Linked DNA regions of Homo sapiens: all the other regions are linked to region 4. The links are contacts of gene promoters, found by promoter capture Hi-C in blood cells and fetal thymus (Javierre and others, 2016). All regions are on one chromosome and are shown on one strand. The core of a region is centred on a gene start or on the middle of the fragment in contact, and the rest is flanking DNA. Distances in the headings are between cores, read along the strand shown. Region 1 overlaps ALK (ALK receptor tyrosine kinase). Region 2 holds the start of LOC124907747 (a long non-coding RNA gene). Region 3 overlaps PLB1 (phospholipase B1). Region 4 holds the start of TRMT61B (tRNA methyltransferase 61B). Region 5 overlaps PLB1 (phospholipase B1). Region 6 overlaps PLB1 (phospholipase B1).

What was found. Contacts are between HindIII fragments. The CHiCAGO score rates a contact against its expected background, and 5 or more counts as called.
Region 1: a contact is called between a fragment that was not itself captured here and the fragment with the promoter of TRMT61B in region 4, in 1 of 17 cell types (activated CD4 T cells). The highest score is 5.0, in activated CD4 T cells.
Region 2: a fragment that was not itself captured here is called in contact with the fragment with the promoter of TRMT61B in region 4 in 1 of 17 cell types (total CD8 T cells); the score reaches 5.0 in total CD8 T cells.
Region 3: a fragment that was not itself captured here is called in contact with the fragment with the promoter of TRMT61B in region 4 in 4 of 17 cell types (naive CD4 T cells, total CD4 T cells, naive CD8 T cells and 1 more); the score reaches 9.0 in naive CD4 T cells.
Region 5: a fragment that was not itself captured here is called in contact with the fragment with the promoter of TRMT61B in region 4 in 2 of 17 cell types (activated CD4 T cells and naive CD4 T cells); the score reaches 5.3 in activated CD4 T cells.
Region 6: a contact is called between a fragment that was not itself captured here and the fragment with the promoter of TRMT61B in region 4, in 1 of 17 cell types (total B cells). The highest score is 5.3, in total B cells.

Annotation. Positions count from the first base shown.
Region 1 is chr2:29,196,832-29,200,266 of GRCh38, forward strand. It overlaps ALK (ALK receptor tyrosine kinase), which reads right to left. Exons shown (of 29, transcript NM_004304.5): 27 at 711-845; 28 at 1-29. Among named protein-coding and RNA genes, the nearest start is that of CLIP4, 83 kb to the left of the region's middle. The HindIII fragment of the contact is 3,270 bases long and covers 1-2,895 here.
Region 2 is chr2:29,127,959-29,131,862 of GRCh38, forward strand. CLIP4 (CAP-Gly domain containing linker protein family member 4) reads left to right here. Exons shown (of 16, transcript NM_024692.6): 3 at 3,300-3,439. LOC124907747 (a long non-coding RNA gene) reads right to left here and starts at 2,390. Exons shown (of 2, transcript XR_007086264.1): 1 at 2,170-2,390. The HindIII fragment of the contact is 813 bases long and covers 1,573-2,385 here.
Region 3 is chr2:28,563,283-28,567,024 of GRCh38, forward strand. It overlaps PLB1 (phospholipase B1), which reads left to right. Exons shown (of 58, transcript NM_153021.5): 19 at 1,998-2,071; 20 at 3,514-3,557. Among named protein-coding and RNA genes, the nearest start is that of PLB1, 69 kb to the left of the region's middle. RefSeq lists silencers at 3,534-3,593, 3,634-3,693. The HindIII fragment of the contact is 8,202 bases long and covers 1-3,742 here.
Region 4 is chr2:28,868,798-28,872,574 of GRCh38, forward strand. It overlaps TRMT61B (tRNA methyltransferase 61B), which reads right to left and starts at 1,512. Exons shown (of 7, transcript NM_017910.4): 1 at 782-1,512. The coding sequence starts at 1,480. RefSeq lists enhancers at 1-21, 22-536, 1,166-1,690, 1,305-1,474, 1,705-1,854. The HindIII fragment of the contact is 7,170 bases long and covers 1-3,777 here.
Region 5 is chr2:28,582,181-28,586,027 of GRCh38, forward strand. PLB1 (phospholipase B1) reads left to right here. Exons shown (of 58, transcript NM_153021.5): 25 at 225-325; 26 at 3,581-3,662. Among named protein-coding and RNA genes, the nearest start is that of PLB1, 88 kb to the left of the region's middle. RefSeq lists an enhancer at 2,285-2,344. The HindIII fragment of the contact is 5,337 bases long and covers 1-3,847 here.
Region 6 is chr2:28,607,124-28,610,713 of GRCh38, forward strand. The region is part of intron 43 of PLB1 (phospholipase B1); the gene reads left to right. Among named protein-coding and RNA genes, the nearest start is that of PLB1, 110 kb to the left of the region's middle. RefSeq lists enhancers at 1-416, 417-1,048, 3,540-3,590, 3,579-3,590 and a silencer at 263-430. The HindIII fragment of the contact is 2,503 bases long and covers 18-2,520 here.

The DNA.
Region 1 (3,435 bases), core at 11-2,510, 330 kb after region 4:
GTTGCCAGCACTGAGTCATTATCCGGTATCTAAAAGAAGAAGCACATTAATTAAAATAAGGAGAAGCACAATGATGAAAAATATATTTTCTTCCAGCCCCAGGGTTGCAACGAATACGTTGAGGGTGCGAACTCGTCTAGGCCCCGTGTACTTGGCCTATGCTGCCCCCTGCTGATTGGTCAAGGAAGAGTGCGCAGGTGTAAAGGTATCTAACACAGACATCCTGATGTTTATGTTAACCACGGCTGCTGTCACTCCATTCCTGAGTTAAAGCCACTTTGGGGACAGAATATTCCAATTATATTTCCCATCCACGTTGCTTGTGGGAAGGAAGTGAGGGGTGCCAGGCAGGGCAGGAGACATTGCAGGGAATGGAAATCTTTAAAGTAGACACAGACATACGGTGTAGGGCAGCAGGGACTGGGCCTGGGACACACATTCCCAGCAGGAGCTTGGGGAATGTAGGCCTGGTGAGTCCACAGCCTGTAGCCAGACAATGGATACTTTTTCTGGGATGGCATCCTTGCTTTTGAGGGCCTGGGAGACGCATCCATCTCACTGAAGTCGCAGTCACATTCGCATCTTGGGGCATATTAAAGGGAGGGCAGCCATCTGCCCCTTCATCTTAAAGAAGCATATGTGGCTCTGGATATTTTTTGAAAAGAAAAACTGCTTAGTAACTAGCAGAAGTGTTCCTAAAAGAGTCATACACAGGCCCAGGGCAGTTCTTGGGTGGGTCCATCCGGCCTCCACTGGTGACAAACTCCAGAACTTCCTGGTTGCTTTTGCTGGGGTATGGCATATATCCAAGAGAAAAGATTTCCCATAGCAGCACTCCAAAGGACCTGGGCATGGGACAGAGGACATGGAGATGGATATAGACACACCCACCCACATTCACACACACACACAGGCACACAGACATACAATTTCAACCTTTTTTTCCCCCATTATACCCTTTTCCATAACATAGAACTCTTAAAATGTAGAAAAATTTAAAAAATAAGAAAATACTACACATGATGCTCCCTTAAAAGACAACCCCTGTTGATTTTTAAGTCGTTTCTGTGCTGAGATTTTTTTTCACTTATTTGCAGTTATATTCAATATGCAATTTTGAACCTTGACTTTTCTGCACATTTCATTATATCATAAACATTTTCCATGCCAGTCCATTTCATAAATAACATTTGGAATGGCTAATGGCTGTAAAACATTCCATTGAGTAGTTGGTTTGCCTTATCATTTCCACATTGTTTTCAGTTTTCAAAATATTTAAAATACTATAATGAACATCTTTGTGCATTTTTTAAAAGGAAGATTTCCTTAAGATAAAGTCTCTGAATTACTAGATTAGGATGTCCAGCCAGCTGATTTCATAGTCTCTTACAGTTCTCTGAGCTTCAGTTTCATCTATCAGATGCCCACTCATCAACTTCACTGGCCTATTTTAATAGGCAACTCAAATTTAACATGCCCAAATGGAACTCTTTCTGTACACACATCATCTCCTTTATTCTTTTCCAACTCATCAGCACCTCTGGTTATACATTTGCTCAAGCCCAAAACCTAGGAGTCATCCTTGATTCCATTCTCCCACACCCCTCCACTTCCCATCCAACAGTCAGCAGTCCTATAACTTTCAAGATAGATCTTGAATCCAGATAGGATAATCTAGTAATTCAGGGTAATTACTGAATTAAAATGTAGGCTAATTCTAGTAAAATAACTAGATCAAAAGACTATGAATATTGACAAATTCTTGGTGCATATTATTTGGTTTCCAAATGTGTTACTCTGTTCATCTACCAGCACCATGTAAAAGCGTGGTAGACACACTCACCAGCATTGAGTATTCTTAATAATAATGACAACTTTTGCTGATTTTAAGGGAAAAAATGGTAGAATATTTTAAATTATGTTTATTGACTTGATAATTCACATGGTTGGATGTTTTCCCAAGTGTTTATTAATTCATTTCACTTTTTTTTCCTATGAATTGCCCATTTTTATCTGCTGGGACAAATTGGTATCTATCAATCAATTTTCTTTTTGATTTGTAGGCACTCTTTATATGTCAGAGATGTTAACCTTTTATAAAAAATTCAAATACTTTTATTAGTTGTTTTCTTTTTTTTTTTTTATGTAGTCTCACTCTGTTACTCAGGCTGGAGTGCAGTGGTGCCATCTTGGCTCACTGCAACCTCCACCTTCCAGGTTCAAGTGATTCGCCTGCCTCAGCCTCCCAAGTAGCTGGGATTACAGGCGCCCACCACAACACCTGGCTAATTTTTGTATTTTTAGTAGAGACAGGGTTTCGTCATGTTGGCCAGGCTGGTCTTGAACTCCTGATCTCAGGTGATCCACCCACCTCGGCCTCCCAAAGTGCTGGGATTACAGATGTGAAACACCGCACCTGGCCTTAGTTGCTTTCTAATGCTACTTTTTAGCATACCAAAGAAAGATTTTTATTTTTAGATAGTCAAACCTATTTTTTTAATGTCATGATTTCCTTTATTTTATAGTTATACAATCTTCCCTTCACCAAAGATTAGATAAATATTTGCTATCTTCTTCTAGTTGTGTTTGTTTTTGCTCTCTTCTTAAATCTAGTTGGAATTTAATTTGGTGTCTAGTGTGAGGTAAGGACCTAAATTGATTTGCTTTTCAAATAACTACTCTTCCAACACTATGCATAAGATAATTTCCTCCTTACCCATTGACTCACGATTAAAAACAGGTCTGTTTCTGGCTATATTTTCACTTCATCTATTTGTCTGCTTCTTGCATTGATACCATTCTATTTTACTTTCTGTGTATTTGTCTTAAATCTGAAAAGGCATTTTTCTCTATTTCTCTTTAAAAAATATTTGATTTCTCATTTGTTTTTTTAAAAGCTTTATGAGATGAATTCTTCGTGTTCTAAAAGAATCACCTTTGATATTTTGATTAAAACTTTAAACCACTACCTAATGATCAGCTTTTTGACAAAGACTATCTTTTAGTGTGATTGTAGTTTTCTGAGGTTAGCAAATATTACCACAAAAATTGTAGAGAACAATAGTTCCTTCATCTTCTAAGAAACATGGGGTGCTTTTATTGTCATCATCTGTGTGAAATTTCAAAGACTCTTGTGAGAAGGATTGGGCAAAGATATTTTCCCTATTTTTCAGGTGAGAAGGTTGAAGCACAGGTTATTATACAACTAATCCGAGACAGACTGGAATACATTATTAGATCTCTTGATTTTGCTACTTACAAATTGCCTGGCACATATATTATTCCTTTCTGTTTGGAGATCTCTTGATTTTGCTACTTACAAATTGCCTGGCACATATATTATTCCTTTCTGTTTGGTGATCTTACTTCCCTTCAAGGCAAAACTAACTAGGCAAAATCAAATGAACAAGAAACTGGCAGTAAGGCCTAAAGAAT
Region 2 (3,904 bases), core at 729-3,228, 260 kb after region 4:
AACATATCCAATTTCTAGGAATTTCATACAATTTCTAAAACACTTACATTAATAATATAGTCATACAAAAATAACATAAGGTTAAGCATCACCTTTGACAATGCTTCTCATGCAGTGTAATAGATCAAATAAGCCTAGTTAGTTTCACATATCAAATAAGCCTAGTTAGTTTCACATTTATTTGACAATGCTTCCCATGCAAAGATGCTTAATTAGTTTAATGTCTGTGTTTTTTTTTTTTTTTTTTAAAGAAATAGAACAAGATTTTCTAGGGGCCGTTGAAAAATCCCAGAGTTAGTCTAAGGTCAGAAAAGACTTCATTCAGAATTTGATTTTTGAGACGTTTATAAAAAGAATACCCAAAAGATTCAAGATTCAAAGCACTTGATTAAATAGGATTACAGGTATTTAGTTATCCATTTAACCAAAGTGACAAAGATTTCAAAGGCAAATACAGAGAAAGCCATGTAGTTGTTAAAAAAAACAAAAACAAAAAAAAACAAAACCCCTTGACTTTTTGAGAGAGAAACTTAATCAAAGACAGCACGAAGCACATGAAATTATCTTGACAAAATACAGAATCTTTGCTTTCTAGGCAGACCATTCAAAAGTTAAAGAAAAACCTTTCACAATCTCCCATCAAGAGCAGGCCCATACTCCAAGAAAGTTTAGTCGTTTTAACAGGAGCTGAAATGCTAGTTATGCATTATTTTGATATGAATGATAATAGATTCATTCAATTTTAGCCAGCTTAATCACACAAGATTCTCTCTCCCTCTTCTGAACTTCCTATAGCCATTTTGGTTTTTTTCCTTCATTTTCTTTTTCAGCAAAAAACATATCTTCCTACTTCACATTTTTTCTTGACTGTCACGCTAGCATTCTGTAGATTGAGAAATCTATGTAAATACACCATAATTTCTAGAAGCACGTTTCCTTATATTATAATTTTTCAGTGTAGCACAGGACATGTTTACTAACACACCCAGGTATCTTTAGTTTCTCTGTCCAAAAGTAGATAAGCTTATGTTCAGCAATTAATGTTTCAGTATTTATCTTATGTGGACTTACATTGATTTAATTCACTTGTTTTGAACAATTATGCTTGGATTACTTACGAAAATTTCATGAGACATTAAATAGCTAAGCATCATCTTGTTTTTCTTGCTGAGAAATTTTGTAACTTAGAGATAGCAGAGGCTTATTTGTAATTCACTTGTCTAACATGAGCTTATTTGACTAGTAGACCTACATAGAATCAAAGTTGTACGTCTGCCTTATGTCTAATGCTGACAACTCTGAAGGCATATTGGTTTTTTAAACTAAACCAACAATGTTTTTGTTTATTGAAAATTACCCAAGTCACATGAACTTGAAAAGCATTTGGATTAGTTCCTATTTTTCTGAGAGTTTTCAGGAATACTTAATTTATATAAGCACTTGTTTTTACTTATGTCTATTGAACATACATAGCTATAAGATCTCTGTGTCTGTTTGTGTATACAGACAGACACAGAGATCTTATAGCTTTCATTTCCAAATTTTAGCCATGTGTCAATTAAAATAATACAAAGCTTATTGGTTTATAAAAGAAGCTGGATCCAAATTGTACCTGTGAGAGATGGAACAAGTCAAGGTTACCTGCTCAGATGGCTACAGCTTTTTAGTGAAGATTTTTTTTTTATTTGAGTGCTGTAGGGATGCTTTTAGAGAAGCTATTTTTGAGTCATTTTGTGTTCAGCAGCTTCTGCATACAAATCAAAGAATGCATTCCATTGTCTCCAAAAGGCTTAGGATACTCCTCCTTCAAGGGCACTCCCAAAGGCAGACTATCTTACCTAAATTAAAGGTTCTCCGAAGTGGTCACTGAAATTGCAAATTATTCTTTGTAAAGTTCACCTATTTTTTCTTGTGAACTTTGTAAAGTTCACAAGATTCTGATCCACAGTGTTTTTGGACCCCATCTTTGCATTAGATTCTCTGAAAGGTCTTAACTATTAAGGATTCTTTTTTCAGCAGCTGCTCTGGAACACAGGGAATCATGTGTTTCACCCTTCCCCCTTTTGAACAGAATAGGTTGACTTCCTGAGAAGTTTCAGCAAAGGTTGTTCAGCATAATTGGAGAGTTCTACACAGAAGGAGGAGAGCTCAGATTCAAAAGAGACTTACTCTAGAACTCCATGGCTGGGTGAGAGAGCAGCCAGTGCTGCGGCCCTGGGTACCAGCACCTAGTTACTGGCCTTGGGGCTTCACAGGGGTCTTCTTCTGATCCTGCTTCTGACATCAAAAACTGTCAAAAGAAAATTCAGGGTGCTTTTCTTAATATAAATATTAAGTTAGTAAAAAACTGCAAATAGGGAGACTTCCAAATCAAAAGTGGTAAGAAGCTTGTCTCACGAAGGTTATAGTAAGGTTTATAAAGCCTAGAAAAGGAAATTCATACAGCTTAATTCTCACTGGTTAGAATGAGTGGGTTAGTTTAGTCATTACTGATTTGCTGCAATGTGCTGAGTCATGCTGACCAAGAAATGAAGTTCAAGCTTCATGTGCAGTTTAAGTAGGTGTTTTGGAGAATAGGTCCTTACAGGTTTTCCTGAGCTGGGGGTGGGACTTTGGCTCAGAGGCCAAGGTTTGTCTTGGCTTCTATTTTGATTTTTGCCTAACAGGACCATTTTGTTGTCTAAGCTTACGAATGTTATCACATTTCAGTTCAATCTTTCTGATTCTCTTCTGATGGACTGCTGCTCTGCTTGTATATGTGTCTTTAGTTTGGTGCCTCTCATCTTTTAGTTATGCTGACTCTAGAAGTAAGAACTATGTGTACATAGTATAATTTTGGAAAATATATAAATGCAAAGAAGAAAGCAAAAACAAAAAAACCTCAATGAGTCCCACTACTTATGCATGCTGTTACAATCTGAGCTCAGTGGTGAGTTACCTCAGCAAGTAGAATAATAGAGGAAAGAAGATAGACTTTGGAGACAGACCTGGTTTTCTACCCCAGATTTGCCACTTACTAGCTGTGCGATGTTGAGCTGGTATTATTTAGTCTGAGCTTTGCTTTCCTCATGTGCAAAATGAGAATAATACCTGCCAGGTAAGGTGTTGGTGAGGATTTTTAAAGTATTTAGTAAGTGCTCAGCAAATGTTCATAATATTTTCCTTATTTAGATACTTCTGATTTTTTTTTAGCATCTAAAATATTTGTATCATTTGAACCTTGGTTTTATTGTTTATTATTTTCAATATATTTATTTGAAACTTTTAGTAAATTTAATTTGCATCTTTTTTTATTTCAGAATTTTCTTTCTTTGATCCTAATGATGCATCATGCCAGGAAATTCTTTTTGATCCCAAAACTTCAGTTTCAGAATTATTTGCCATTTTGAGACAGTGGGTTCCTCAGGTCCAACAAAACATTGACATTATTGGAAATGAGGTAAGGAATTCTTACATTTTAAGTTTTGCATTGTTAGGATTGTTAATGGTATAGATTTTTTTCCCCATCTGAAAGGAAGATGGTAATAAAGGAGAAACCCTTTAAAAGTTCTGATATTTATTTGTATTTCCAGGATTTTCATGGGGCAGTGAGTTAATACTATATATTCTTCTGATTATTTCTTCATGCTCTGTACTTCTGACATTTGTAGACTCCTGGCGGGTGCAGGGAGGGGCATTTTTCATATTTCCTTCTTTGTAAAATTAATTTTGTAAACTTTTATGCATTTCATAAAGGGATTTGATTACCATCATGTTCTATTTACACTTTTGGTTGGTTTGGTAAATATATAGGCTTGAATGTAGTCTTTAAGAATATTAGATTTTTTGAGGGAGGGTTCCTTGACCAGTATGTTGCTGTGTTGTAGGAAGAGAGTGCTTATACTTTTTTCAAATATCATTACAC
Region 3 (3,742 bases), core at 87-2,586, 310 kb before region 4:
ATGGTTTCCCACCTCCATTCTGGTCTCATCTTCCTCCCCCAATGCTGAGATGAAGGAGAGAGCAGGAAGTGGAGGGACCCCAGAGGGAGTGTGGGTGACAGGAGTGACCCACCCCAAGTCACACAGCTGGTCAGCGGTGGGGCAGGATTGGACAAGATCTCCAGACCATGGTGTAGAACTCCTCCAAGGATCCAGTGCTTTGTTTTGTCCATGTAGAAAAGCTAAGGGAAGGTACCAGGAAGAGAGGTGAAGAGATGATGAGACAGGGCAAGTGCTAATGGGGGCAGGGAGGTGGGGGAGGGTGGGAAGACGGGAGTCTGTGGAAGAGGCAGATAGGCCAGAGATGTTCCAAACCCACTTCTGCATCTGCCCCCGGGTGACATCCCAGACCCTGCAAAGCACTATCCATGAAAAGCAGAATCAGGCCCTTGAGAGCCTGGGGGCTGGGAGTCCCAGAGGTTCCTAGACACAGCTTCCATTCAACAGCCTCTCATCAGAGTCCAGCTGCTATTCTCTGGGCCAGTAGAATACAGGGTCTCCAGCTGAATCCTCCCCAAGAACAAGCAGACACCTCTCATGTCTATGGTCTATCACAATGATATCATCCACTCAGTGGGATGTATCTTCATGACAAAATCCTGTGAGGCATGACTTTCTTTAGATTCAACCAATAAAGGCTGGGCCCAGTGGCTCACATCTATAATCTCAGCACTTTAGAAGGCCAGGGTGGGAGGATCACTTGAGGCCAGGGGGTCAAGGTGAGCCTGGGCAATGTAGCAAGACCCAATCTCTACAAAAAAGAAAAGAAAAAAAATTAAGCATGGTGACACATGCCTATAGTCCCAGCTACTTGAAAGGCTGGGGCTGGAAGATCACTTGAGCTCAGGATTTCGAGGCTGCAATGAGCCACAATGGTGCAACTGCACTCCAGGCTGGACAACAGAGCAAGGCCCTGTCTCTAAATCAATAAGAAGGTGAATGAAGCTGGGCAAGGTGAAGTGCCTAAGGTCACACAGCTTGTAAGTGCTCGAGCCAGGATCACAAATCAGGGATCCTGACCCTAAGTCCAGGGCCCTATCCCTATGCTGTGGCAGCCTCCTCCGTGGCCCCTCAGCCACTCTTTACCCCAAAGACCTGACTGCTCATAACCTCCCAGGAAGGACTGGCAGGCTGGGCCTTAGCAGCTTCATACACTGCTTATCCCAACCTCTTCCTGCCCGGCGGGGCCTGACATCACCTGCTCCCAATTCCCTGGTCTCCTTGAAGATACTCTCAGGACAAGGGGTCATCACATCTCGGCACAGCTGCTCAGGGGTTCCTAGGGAGGCAGCACTTTGGGTGTGAACCTGCCTGGCAGGTAGCAAAGGAACTGGGCACCAGAGAGCAGGGATCACACCTGGGGGGCCTCTCATGGAGGCCAGCCTTCACCCCCAACTGCCTGGGAGGCCAGTCTCAGCATGCCCTTCAAAATGCTCAGAAGCAAAGTGCTTTAGGCAAGGGACACGCACCTGGAGAGTGTCCACATTGTGCTTTCTTCAGCTGATGACGGCTACGTGGGATTTCATTTTATTACTACATTTTAAACTGCATAGGTGAGATATATTGGTATAAAAGGATAATGATGTATTTCCTTTTATGATATACTTCACAACTTTAAAAAAATGAGAAAAACAGGACCCTGAAATGTATCCTTTTGAAAAGGTACAGTCTAATTTCAAGAGCACTTTTGCTGGACGAGTTTTACTTGGTCTTGGCCTAGGCAGGGTTTCTTAGAATGAAGCAGAGCTGGGAGTAGCACCAGGCATTCCCAGTGGGCACTCTCACTCATCTCTGAAAAGGCAGGATACATATGGAGACATGGTGCCATCTAGACCCTAGATCCCAGAGAGTGCCCAGGTGGTCCTGGCCAGCATAAGAACATAGACCTTTTGGCAGGTAGGCAGAGGTGGGCCACTGGGGAAAGCAGAGAAACTCACCCCCTCATTGTTCCCTCTCAGGCAGGCAATGGGGCCGGGTCCACACCTGGGAACGTCTTGGACGTCTTGACTCAGTACCGAGGCCTGTCCTGGAGGTGAGTGAGGGTGTGGCAAGGCCCCAAAGGCCCCTTCATTGCAGAGCAAGGGAAGCCCCCTGAGTGTTCTAGAAAACAACGCCTTAAGCAGAAGGGTGGGCCATTTTGTTCTTTTCTATGACCAACTTCTAGGTTTAATTTGAAAAAGGTATTCACCAGCCTCCTCAAACCACTACATTGCCCAAAACAGTAGCTGAGCCTTGAGCCAGGAATCCAGGAGAGAAACTACATAAATGTTTGGGCTGGAAATGCTTCTCTGGCTTCCATTTCTCCCTCTGTGATATAATCTCAGAAGGAGGCAGTGGCCTGAGTGATGCACAGATCATTGCCTTTGGAACCAGAGTTGTAGCTGAGCCCTAGCTGCCCAGTTGGATGTAACCTTGGGCAAGTTCCCTAACCTCTCTGAGCTTCTCTCCTCATCTCTGATGCAGAAATAATGCTACTACCTGAGCACTGTCTGAGGGCTAGAAAGAATTTAGGTGTCCAGCACAGTGCTTGACACTAAGTATCTGGTAGTTGGCATTGTTATTATAGGGCCTTTATTTTGCAGATGAGGAAACAAGGCTCAGAGAGGGCAAGTAACCTGACCAAGATCACAGAGCCAGAAGATAAAAGATCAGGAAGCAGAGCAGATGCTTCCTGGCCCCCACCAGTGCATTCCCTTATCCTGTATCACTTTGGGCAGGCTTATTTCTGCTCTGTATGTGATCAAACCTCTGCTGCAAGCCCGGGCAGGTTTGGTGTTTCCTCACCTGGAATCTGGCATCTCTATCTGACACCTGCTTTAACCTGAGTGCCGAGTCTCTGGCATCCTTCCTCACGTTGCAACACAGTTAAACCCAAACATTTGGGGAACCTTTTAGATGCTCCTAGACACCCTTGGCACAGAATGGGGTGGGGGGGTGTGGAAAAGCAGGGAATCCAATCCACTCTGGAATGCTGCATATTTGCATGCCTAGAAACCCTTCTAACTTTGATCACCTTGGAATTTTATTATTGGCTTGGAAGATGGCTGACTCTCTAGAAGACACCTTTTAAAAACGGCTTTTCCAAGCCAAGCAGGAAGAGAAGAGAGAAAAAAATAGGGCCAATAATATTAATGCACGCTGCAGTGGCTAGTTGGAAAGGGGCTGGCAGACGAGGGACTACTTCCCCTTTGAAAGCAGGGGTGCAAGGAACCAACCTACCTCCCCTTCCCCAACATCAGCGAAAATCAGCCGCTGGTTTAAAGCTGGCGTTTTGTTTGGATGTGCTGGCCTATGGGGAGGGGAGTCGTATTCTGGTTTGCTTTTTCCGTTTTTCTACTGAAGTGATGGGGAAAGTGCAAGCTCCAGGCCCCCGGGCTGTTTCTCGGGAGACGGGCGTTTCTGGCTAGTGTCTGAAGGGTCTCGGCGTGGCTGGGATTTTAACCCTTCATTTTCTTTCTTGGACCCACGTTACAGCGTCGGCGGAGATGAGAACATCGGCACCGTTACCACCCTGGCGAGTGAGTACGCGGCGGCGGCCGGGATGTTTGGTTTGGGGCGGCCCCTGCACGCTTCCCGCTCCCCCTGCAGGTGGCGCGGGCCTCGGGAGGAGCCCCGGCTGCAGGAGCCCGCTAAATTCACCAGGGGGCGCTGCCTCCCGAGACTGCCGCCCAGCTCCGCTTCCGACAGTGACGAAAGCCTTAGA
Region 4 (3,777 bases), core at 262-2,761:
AGGCCACGAGTTGAAGACCAGCCTGGGCAATAAGGCGAAACCCCGTCTCTACAAAAATTAGCCCGGGGTGGTGGTGCATGCCTGTAGTCCCAGGTACTCAGGAGGCTGTGGTGGGAGAATCGCTTGAACCCGGGAGGCAGAGGTTGCAGGGAGCCAAGATCGCAACACTGCACTCCAGCCTGGATGACAGAGTGAGAACTTGTCTTAAAAAAAAGACTGAAACTAGGCTTTAGGCAGTTAACTTTTTAATAAAGAATAGTCATTTTATGTTTGGTGTTGAATGTTAGCTATTGTAATATAAAACTCTATTTCTTCCCTAAAAGGGGAAAAGCACCGTAATGTACCTATTGTTAATATACTCTTGTAACATGATTATTGAATATTAAAATATCATCATAGTAGTACTAAAAAATTGTTCCCTAAGAGTTCAACATTCTCTTGAGTCCTGAAGTTATAAACTTAAGAGTAATGGGGAACAAAATTAGTACTTATTATGTACGTAGTGAGTTCACATCACCCTAACAGAAAGTTGAGCTATTATCCACATTTTACAAATAAGGGACTCGAGACTCCTAAGTTAAAATTAAAATCTAGCCGTTCCCTAATGCTAATTTTCATCATGATATGTAAAAGTTATAACCATTGGTTTATTTTAAAAGCCTGAGTACAATAAAAAATCCAAACGTTCTGAGATGTCTTTGAATACATTAATCAGGACTGAGTACTGCATCTGTCTTTGCCCCTCCTGAAACCAATACACACCTTATCTCCATCGCATTACCTTTGGGAATGTTATGGCAGTCCCTCTTTTCATCAATACTACATAGTCTTCCAAGGCTGGCCTCCTCAGCATGTACTGCTTACCGAAGGAACTCCTCAGTATCTGGCCGGGGAACTTCCCCACGATCTTGCCGAACGGGACTGCCCCCCAGTTACTATTTAAGAGTCCGAAGTTGTTCAACCTAAATAATTTCTTAAATTTTGTTTCTCCCTCCCCAGTCTCAGCTAAAATCAGTTCCCCAGCCTGAAAGGGTCTCTCTCTGGAAGTTGAACAAGAAGGGGAGACGTGACGCTCTTCGACCTCGGTAGCGGACTGGGCCTGCGAGAGCATCGAAGGATCCTCGGATCCCTGGTGTGTGGGACCGCACCGGCCCTGGTCTCCGCTCGAGTCCTCGAGCTCTCGAGGGGATGACTCTTCCCGCAGCGTCGGCAGTCTGAGGTTTTCCAGTGACGAAAGACATCCAGTCCCAATGTCCGAGATGCTCAGAGGGAGAGATGGGCAAGACTCTGCTCCTGGGGCTTTCCTTTGTGCCGCCTCGTGCTCTCTTTCTCCATCTCGCAGGTCTCTAGGCGAGGACCTGCAACACAGTGACCGAGCTCCCTCGAAGGGCTCCTGCCCCAGGCCGTGCAGGAATGAATTGGTTCCGAGCCCCTGCCGCAGGCACAGCAAGACAGGACCGCGGCACCATGCCATTAGCATAGTGTTTCGCGAAGGCGCCGTCGCAGACGAGTGACGCAAGCCTAGCGCGACCCCTTCTTTCCCAGTCGCGCGCATGGCGCAGCAGCCCGATGGCTCTGCAGCTGCGTGGGGCTCTACAGCTCCGCGACTGCGCCTGCGTCGGGGAGGGGGCGGTGCGCTAGGTCAAGCTAGGGCGCGGGAGCAGCGGAGTCCTGGTTGAGTGACCATCCAAGGAATATGTCCTCGCGCGCGGCCGCCGTTTTCCTTTTCGGAATGTGGGTAAAGAATTTACCGCTAACAGACGACCTCCAGGTTCGCTCTTGGACAGCAAGATTGAGAGACAAAACTTAACAAAGCGCTGTGCAAACTGAAATCCCAGGCTTAGCTCGCTTGTGTCTTGAACACGGAAGTCACCTAGTCACCCACAAGATGTATGAGTACAGCTAACCCCCAGATGCATTTGACAGACGGCGTGGGACGCGCCACTTGCTGATTGGCTCTCCTTTCCCAGTTGACCGCGACATCCCCCAGCCCCAACTCCCTTTTGATGGGGCTGTGACCACCTGCCGGTCCCCTCACCCACCCCTCACGCCCGGAGAGTCCGAGGTTGATTCGAGTACTCACTATGTGCTTATGTAACACATGTTTTCATTATTAAAATATAACTAGTTTACCCTCCCAAAACGAAATAGAAGTGTCTTAAAATGGAAACAGGTATCTTTGGAGGCCAGAGTTATTTAGCGTTAAATATCACTAGCCTCCCAGCATTTTGGGAAGCCGACCGAGGCAAGCGGCTCATTTGAGGTCAGGAGTTCGGGACCAGCCTGGCAAATGTGGTGAAACCCCGTCTCTACTAAAAATACAAAAATTAGCTGGGCGTGGAGGCACGCACCTGTAATCCCAGCTACTCGGGAGGCTGAGGCAGGAGAAGCGCTTGAACCCGGGAGGCAGACGTTGCAGTGAGCTGAGATCTCGGCACTGCACTCCAGCCTGGGCGACTGAGCAAAACTCCTCTCGGGGGAAAAAAATTAGTCGGGCGCGATGGTGCACGCCTGTAATACCAGCTACAAGGGAGGCTGAGGCATGAGAATAGCTTGAACCCAGGAGGCGGAGGTTGCAGCGGGCCAAGATCGAGCTACCACTGCACTCCAGCCTGCGCGACACAGCAAAACTCTGTCTCAAAAAAAAAAGAAAAATCGCTAGCCTCTTTGCTGGATATTAGTTGACTGGGCAAAAGTTTATTGAGAGTCTGGCAATACGAGGCACGTTAGACACTCATTTAAGTTTCCAACAATTCTGTGTTAGAAACAAATCCATTTTATGAGTAAAAGAACTGGCCCAGGGAGATTAAATAATTTGGGGAAACCAGGAGTGGTGGCTCACACCTGTAACCCCAACACTTTGGGAGACCCAGGCCAGAGGATTGCTTGAGCCCAGGATTTCAAGACCCACGTGCAACATAATAATAATAAGTTGGTCAAGATGCATAGCTGACAAGTGGCATTGCAGAGTTTCCTATTTAGTCAGTCTGGTTCAGCAGCCCATGCTCTTTGTACTGTAACACCGTTTGGAAAGACTGGTCAACAGCACAGTTGAACTTAAAGTCCAAGTATATTCAAAGGGCTGTGAAGTCAATGTGAATTCTGTTTAAATTTGATGAAATAAATCTTGTTATTCTTTTTTTTTTTTTTTATTTGAGACAGAGTCTTGCTCTTGTTGCCCAGGCTGGAGTGCAATGACACGATCTTGGCTCACTGCAACCTCTGCCTCCTGGGTTCAAGCGATTCTCCTGCCTCAGCCTCCCGAGTAGCTGGGGTTACAGGCACCTGCCACCATGCCAGGCTAATTTTTGTATTTTTAGTAGAGACTCGGTTTCACCATGTTGGCCAGGCTGGTCTCGAACTCCTGACCTCATGATCCACCCGCCTCGGCCTCCCAAAGTGCTGGGATTACAGGCATGAGCCACCGCGCCTGGCCGTTATTACTTTCTAAGACATAAATTAATACTTTCTAATCAGTACTTTCTAGGACATCAGCCACCATAAACTCCATCAACAGGATTTCTCCCTTCTTTTTTTCCTTTTTTTTTCTTTGTGAGACAGAGTCTCACTCTCGCCCAGGCTGGAGTGCAGTTGTATGATCTCGGCTCACTGCAATGTCTGCCTCCCAGGTTCAAGCAATTCTCCTGCCTCAGCCTCCCAGATAGCTGGGATTACAGGTGTGCACCACCATACCCAGCTAATTTTTGTATTTTTAGTAGAGACGGGGTTTCGCCATGTTGGCCACGCTGGTTTGAACTCTTGACCTCAGGTGATCCA
Region 5 (3,847 bases), core at 389-2,888, 290 kb before region 4:
CCTAGAGGAAGCTCTGGCATCCTGCTGAGACCTCCTTGGCAGGTCACCTTTGTTGTGGATCCCAGCCCAAATGCATAGAGGGGGAGCAGGGACGGGTGGAGGAAGTGGATGGGGGCAGATGGAAGTCCCTAGATCTGAAACTTCAGCAGGAGGAGCAGGCCCCAAACCGAGGTGAAAGGCTGCCCAGCCTCATCCTCTTGGTGACTGAGTTTGCCTTTTCTCAGGTTCCTCGGGCATTTGTGAACCTGGTGACGGTGCTTGAGATCGTCAACCTGAGGGAGCTGTACCAGGAGAAAAAAGTCTACTGCCCAAGGATGATCCTCAGGTCAGACAGATACTTCTCCCCGATTCTACTAAGAATCCTCACTGCTAAGGGCAGTGGCACCCTTAGCAAATTCCTTAGAAAACCCAAGGGCCGAAGTGTGAAAGGGCTGTGACCACCCCATCTTCTAACCTGGAAAAGCCTAAGGGGAGGATATCCTAGGATTTTTCCACCCTGGTGTAGGCCTCAGCCCACCTCAGGGTGTGCATGGGGAACTACCCCTGCACCCCGCCTCTGTTGCCATGGCAGCCACAAGGCACCCTCCAGGCCTCCAGAGGGAAGAGTAAAACGCTAGGAATGGAGTCAAGCTGTGTGTCTGAGGCCCGGGGACCGCCCAGGCCACTGCTGGGACCTACTTCCAAGTGTGTCCAGAGCTGATCTGCCCCCTCCTAGAGGCCCATCTCTAGGACAGGGGTGCCTCTGGTTGGTATGGGTGTTCCATGTAAAGCATTCACAGATATAGGGCCACTGTCACCTGCCAGAGAAGGAGGTCAAACCAGAATTAGCAGGGTCCAGAGGACAGAGTCCTCCCCAGAGAGTAGAGAACCCTGGTCCTGAGAAGGTGCCTGAGAGGACGTCTTCACCCCTCAGCCTCCAGAGCCAGACAGAGCTGGCTTCCCCTTCTAATACAGGCTGAGCATCCCTCATCCGAAAATCTGAAATCTGAAATGCTCCAAAATCCAAAACTTTTTTTTTTTTTTGAGACAGGGTCTCGCTCTGTTGCCTAGGCTGGAGTGCAGTGGCATGATCTTGGCTCACTGCAGTCTCCGCCTCCCAGGTTCAAGCAATTCTCCCACCTCAGCCTCCTTAGTAGCTGGGATTACAGGCACACCACCATGCCCAGCTAATTTTTGTATTTTTAGTAGAGACGGAGTTTTATCATGTTGGCCAAGCTGGTCCCGAACTGCTGACCTCAGGTGATCCACCCTCCTCGGCCTCCCAAAGTGCTGGGATTACAGGCGTGAAGCCACCATGCCTGGCCCCGAATCCAAAACTTTTAAAGTGCTGACATGACACCACAAGGGGAAAATTCCACACCTGACTTCATGTGACAGGTTGTAGTGAAAACACAGGTGCACAGCACGCAGTTTATTCAGCATCCCCAAAAAGCCTCCTTCAGCTGCGATGCACTCTCTTTTCTGGGCATGCCCAGATCCTGCGGCTCAAGCATGCCCACAAAGGGTAGCAAAATGGCACATGTGCAGGCCGGATGCTCCAACAACAGGTTCCCCATAATGGCTCATGTGGGGCTAAGACCTGCGTGCATTACTCACCTAGTTTTTGCTCATTCTCTGTGTGGTAAAGATGTGGCTTAAAACGATAGCCATAGGGTAATGCAAATATTCCAAAAAAAAAAAAATCTGAAATCTGAAATGCTTCTGGCTCAAAGCATTTCAGATAAGGGAGACCCAGCCTGTATCACACATCTCCAGGACCGTCAGGAATAAGACGTTCCTCTAAGTGAAGCATGAACGTTTTCCGCAGCCTTCCTTCCTGCAGGTTTTCCTCTGGACTGTTAGCCAAGGTCACTGAGACTGTGCTCCCCTACCCTGCCCCCCAGCTCTGTTACTCGGTACAGGTCCCCACCCCAGCCCTGAGCACATCACATGGTAATTACTCATGTGCCTCCCTCCCCCACAGCCTGTGAACTCAGCCTGAGTCACTGCTAGCATGGTGTAGGGGCTCAGCTGCTGTTTGCTGAATGACTGAATAATTCACAAGGGCCAGACTTGCTCTTGGAAGTTAAGGGGTACCTTTCCTGCTCCTCTGCAGATCCATGCCATGCCTCACCTGGGGGACCCAAACCGCACAGGTCCCCTGGAGAAGGCCTCACGGTGCTGTGAGCAGAGACAGGATGGTTGCTTGGGTGACATGTTCCTATGAACGCAGCTGGTGTCAGGCATGCTATTTCCAACTGCTGACTCATCCGCTGGCTCACACTTTCTCCAGTCACTGGGCCACACAGGGGATCGGTGTCTTCACTCCATTTCAGAGCAGTTTACCAGAAAGCCTCTTGCTACCCATCTTGGCAGGGTTTTTTAGACCATTCAAACTCAAGGTTCAAAATAGGCATTTGCCAGGCCCATTCACAGATCTGAGATGGCCAAGTCACTGAATGTCAAGGTTGGATAGACTCAGGTCACCTTCTCCTGCCACCTCTGCAGTGCCCTGCACTCCCCGCCTCTCCACTGTTTCATCGGGTGGCTGTGCTTTCCTCTGCAGTGCTGAGTCTACACGGAGCCATCCCTGCTGTTATCACCTCATCCCCCTGGACCAAAAGCCCAGATGTGCCAGATAGCTGGCCGGGTCAGAGCTGCAGATTGGATGGAAGCAGTTTAACATAGAGATTAAGAGCTCAGGTTCAGAGCCAGGCAGACTTGAGTTCAAGTCCTAGCTCCCACACTCAGCACCCATGCAACCTTGAGAAAGTTACTCAACCACCCTGAGCCTGGGTTTCCTCATCTCTAAAACAGGGATAATGAGAATACCACTTCTAGAATGGCTGGGAGGACTAAACAGGTTAATACCCATAAAGTTTTTATTGCAGTGCTTGGTACAGTGTTCAATGTTAATTATTCAATAATAATTGCTAAGATACACTCAAATCAATGTATCTTAGCAATTATTATTGTTGTCACTGCAGTATGCCTCATCGGCACAGCACTTTCCTCAGACAGCCGTAAGGTGACTCGTCTCCATAAAAGTCACTCCTACAGAAATCAGAAGAAGTCTATTTCATTTTCAAGAGCAAATCCAGGTCTAGGAATTTTTCTTTTTTTTTTTTTCTTTTGAGACAGAGTCTCGCTCTGTTGCCCAGGCTGGAGTGCAGTGGCACAATCTCGGCTCACTGCAACCTCCGCCTCCCGGGTTCAAGCGATTCTCATGCCTCAGCCTCCCGAGTAGCTGGGACCACAGGCATGCAGCACCACCCCAAGCTAATAGTTTGTATTTTTAGTAGAGACGGGGTTTCGCTATGTCAGCCAGCCTGGTCTTGAACTCCTGACCTCAAGTGATCCACCCACCTCGGCCCACCAAAGTGCTGGCATTACAGGCGTGAGCCACCGCGCCTGGCCTGGAAATCTTCTTTAGCTTCGTTTGGTATGGTCAGCAGGTCAGCCAGCCAGGCTCCTCATTAGCACAGATCTCTGAACTCCAAGTTAAAAGAAATGTATTGAGTCTCAAGCCAGCGTTTCTGCATCACTTATTCAGGATGGTGATCTTGGTGGGATGAGGGTTTCTCTTTGGTTTGGTCTACAGGTCTCTGTGTCCCTGTGTCCTGAAGTTTGATGATAACTCAACAGAACTTGCTACCCTCATCGAATTCAACAAGAAGTTTCAGGTAAGCCGGGAAGGGGTTCTAAGACTTCCCAGAACTGCTGTGTGATTCGATTGCTCTGTCTAGAGAACAAGTCAGTGCTTAGGTAATTTTGACCCTGTGTGGGGGATGACCACTGACTAGTTTGCTGATTTTAAAACACCCTGAGACACAGCAGGGGCTGCTACTTGGTTTGTATGAATTGCACC
Region 6 (3,590 bases), core at 19-2,518, 260 kb before region 4:
TCCGTAAGTGGTTGTTAAGCTTGACTTCAGGCCTGGGGTGGGGGCAGGTTCTCATTGTCTTCAGCTCCTGTTTCTAGGCCCGGTCTTATGGCTTTTTAACCAAATAAGGCCAAGGCCAGAAAACCCTCAGCAGCAATAAAAGCAGAAGGCCTGACCCAATCTGGGAGGCTGGGTTTCCCTCCTAGGTCGGCCACACCACCCTCTCCCACCCTCCCTGCTGGGGAATGGACCTGCAGCTCCCCCATGTGTCTGCTGGGAATCCTGAGAGAGTGGGCACCCCTGTTCACATGCCTGCTCCCTGTCTGCTGCCTGCCCTACCCCAGTCTTGGGCTCAGGCTCAGTCTTGTGTGCCATCAGCCCCATCAGGAGAGCAAGAATGGCAGGAAGAAGGGATGGGAAGTGAAGACAGTCGTAGCAGAGGGCTCAGTTGCTGGGTCTTGTGCTTGGAGCTAAGGAGATTGTCAGATTCTGCAACAGCTAGTGCAACACAGATGCCTCTAGTCCAGGTGGTCAGGTGCTGGCCAAAGGCCTGGAGCAAAACCTTAGAGGCCCCTACTGTGCCAGGTGTAAACTCTTTAACTGCTTTCCTAAGGATGCCTGGGGGTTCTAGGGGAGCAGCCAGGGACCGTGGATAGTGGGGGCATTTGGGGACTCAGAAATAGCCATATTGTAGATATGTCAATATTTTACCAACCCTATAGCCATACTGAATATCAGCCATGGAGGGCCCTTTCCAAACTGTCCACTCCCCTTCCATTACATAACAAAAGCAGCCATCATTTGCTCTTTCTTTCAACAAACGTGTATTGAGTACTGAGTTGGAGCCTAAGCACTGGGTCAGGGAGAGCCCTGTCACCCTGGGCTTCGAGGCAACCACTTCCAGGCTTTACCCCAGATCAGGCAGAGACCCCCAAAAGGAGGCTGCTCCACCCAGCAGCATCTTAAGCTGAGTGGGCTCAGTGCCTCCCTTCTAGACAGAGCCCAATGGAGCCACTGCACTGATTTGCAGAGGTGAGCAGATCCAGCCTCGTGGAACCAGTAGAAGCCCAGCCCTGGTGAAGCTGTTGCTAAGCAACATTGGAGCCCATTCTGAAAGGGTCCATCTGTTGGCCAGCCCAACTTCACTGTGTTCTGAGCATTCTGCATTCCTCAGTCCCATCTGCTCCCTCCCATGTGCCTTGGAGTGATATAAAAGTCCACCAGCATCTCAGTGTGAGCTGACAGGGGCCAGGCAGCACCTATTTTTGTCCTAGATGTGTCTAAACATAGAGGCAACAGGCAACAGGCAAGACGCAGTGGGGGGCGGGAGGCAGGAGGCCGAGATGGCTGTGAGCATGAGCTTTCTCAGCCTCCTCCCTTCTCCCATCCGCAGTCTAACTGCTCATACGTTCTGTGTGCCAGGTAGGGTGACTTAACAGCACGCCATGGATTTCTGTTGTAGTTTCAAGTTGGACAAATTCTTTTACAGACAACTTTTGACTAGCCTTCTGTGGACTGAGCCTATACTCTGCCTTAATGGGCTCTCTGCCCACTCCTTTCCTAACCCCAGGGCAGCTGGCTGAACACCTGGTCCTTTTCTTAGGTTTCATTCTTTTTGACCTCTCTGAAGCCCTTGTCAAAAGTCACCACCTCCCCCTTGAAATTCACTCCTTCCTGGGTTTGTGGACACTAAATCGCCTTGATTTTTCTGGTCTTCTGTTTGCTTGCCTTTAATGACCCTCCTCCTCCCTTTCCCCAGTCTTGAAAATGTAGATATTCTCCAATTTTCATGTCTCCATTCTATTTTCTTTCCTTTTTCACTCACTTTTTGAAACAGGGTCTTGCTCCGTCTCCCAGGCTGGAAGTGCAGTGGCGCAATCACAGCTCTCTGCAGCTTTCAACTCCTAGGCTCAAGCCATCCTCCCACCTCAGCCTCCTGAGTAGTTGGGACTGCAGGCATGCACCACCATGCCCAGCTAATTTTGGTTTATTTGTTTTGGTAGAGGTGGGGTCTTGCCATTTTGCTCAGGCTGATTTTGAACTCTGGACTCAAGTGATCCATCAGCCTTGGCCTTCCAAAGAGCTGGGATTACAAGTGTGAGCAGCTGTGCCCGGCCTCTGTTTTCTTTTCTCTCTCTCCACATCCTCTCACTCTGAGACTTACCCATTTCCAGGATTTCCTGTAAAATTTCTTTGTGCTGGATTCCTCAGTCTCTCAATCTGTGTCTTCATTTCTCCTTTCCCGAACTCCAATCCTCTATTTCTGACCTTTAAAATACATTTCCCCTTGGATGCTCTATCTGGTATAAGGTTACCCAAAAGGCAGATTAATGTATGATCAAGCAGGAGGGGGCTGAAATAAGTTCATGTATCATACCCTATCTTTTCTTATGAGAAAAAGCCGAAGTTTATCAAATTCCCTTAAACTTAGTTTGTTGTTTAGCAGTGCTTCTGTATTGAATTACATATAAGTGACATTGTTATCTTTTTGACGCTCAGAGCTTCTAAATCCAATCCTGCCATGACCCCACCACCATCTCAAGCTTAACATTCATTCAAAAAATAATTTTCTGAGCAAGGAGTGTCTAAATAGGAACTAATTCTTTGTCTTCCCAAACTCTCTGTTCCTTAGGAGTTCTCTATTTCTGCCAACTTCATTAGGGTTTTCAAGCTCTACAGGCATGAAATGTCAGGGACCCTATCTAATCGGATTCTTACCAGTCCTCCAGAATCTAATAGGATTCTTCCCACCTGTCCCTCTTCCTTTTCCCACTGCCACTGCAGGGGCTCAGATTCTCATCACTTTGTACGTTAAAGGCTAACTAGTCGCACCTTCCCACCATGAAACAATAGACTTATGTAATCTTAGGTTCTCAGTGGGGAGGGCCTTAGACTTCTGTGGATGCAATCTCTCATAGAATAATGGAATTCTTCTACCACATCCCTCCCAAGACACCCTATGGCCTCTGCTTAAATGTTCACACTTTCTTTTTTATTTATTTATTTATTTGACTTTAAGTTCCAGGATACATGTGCAGAAGGTGCAGGTTTGTTACATAAGTATACATGTGCCATGGTGGTTTGCTGTACCTATCAACCGGTCATCTAGATTTTAAGCTGTGCATGCATTAGGTATTTGTCCTAATGCTCTCTGTCCCCAAATGTTCACACTTTCTTACCACCTGAAATCAGTGTAGGTAAAGAACCAGCACTTTTTTTTTTTTAATTAATAGTGATGGGGTCTCACTCTGTTGCCCAGGCTGGTCTCAAACTCCTGAGCTCAAGCAATCTTCCCACACTGGCCTCCCAAAGTGCTGGGATTACATGTGTGAACCACCACACTCGGCCGGAACTAGCACTTTTTGAATGGAATGGGATAGAAAACCTCTTAGGACATCCCGTGAAATACCATTATGTCCTCCTGCCTCTGACTGCCACCACCCAGCTGAGAGTCTTCTCAGTTCCAGCCACTCATTGCACACATGGCTGCCAACCCCTGCCTCATATGGGTATTTCTCCTTGGAATGTGGCCCCTTGTAAGGTGGTGACTGTACATCTGGTTTGATCCAACCAGCACAACCAGCGAAGAAAATCACCCCTCCTTCCCCATG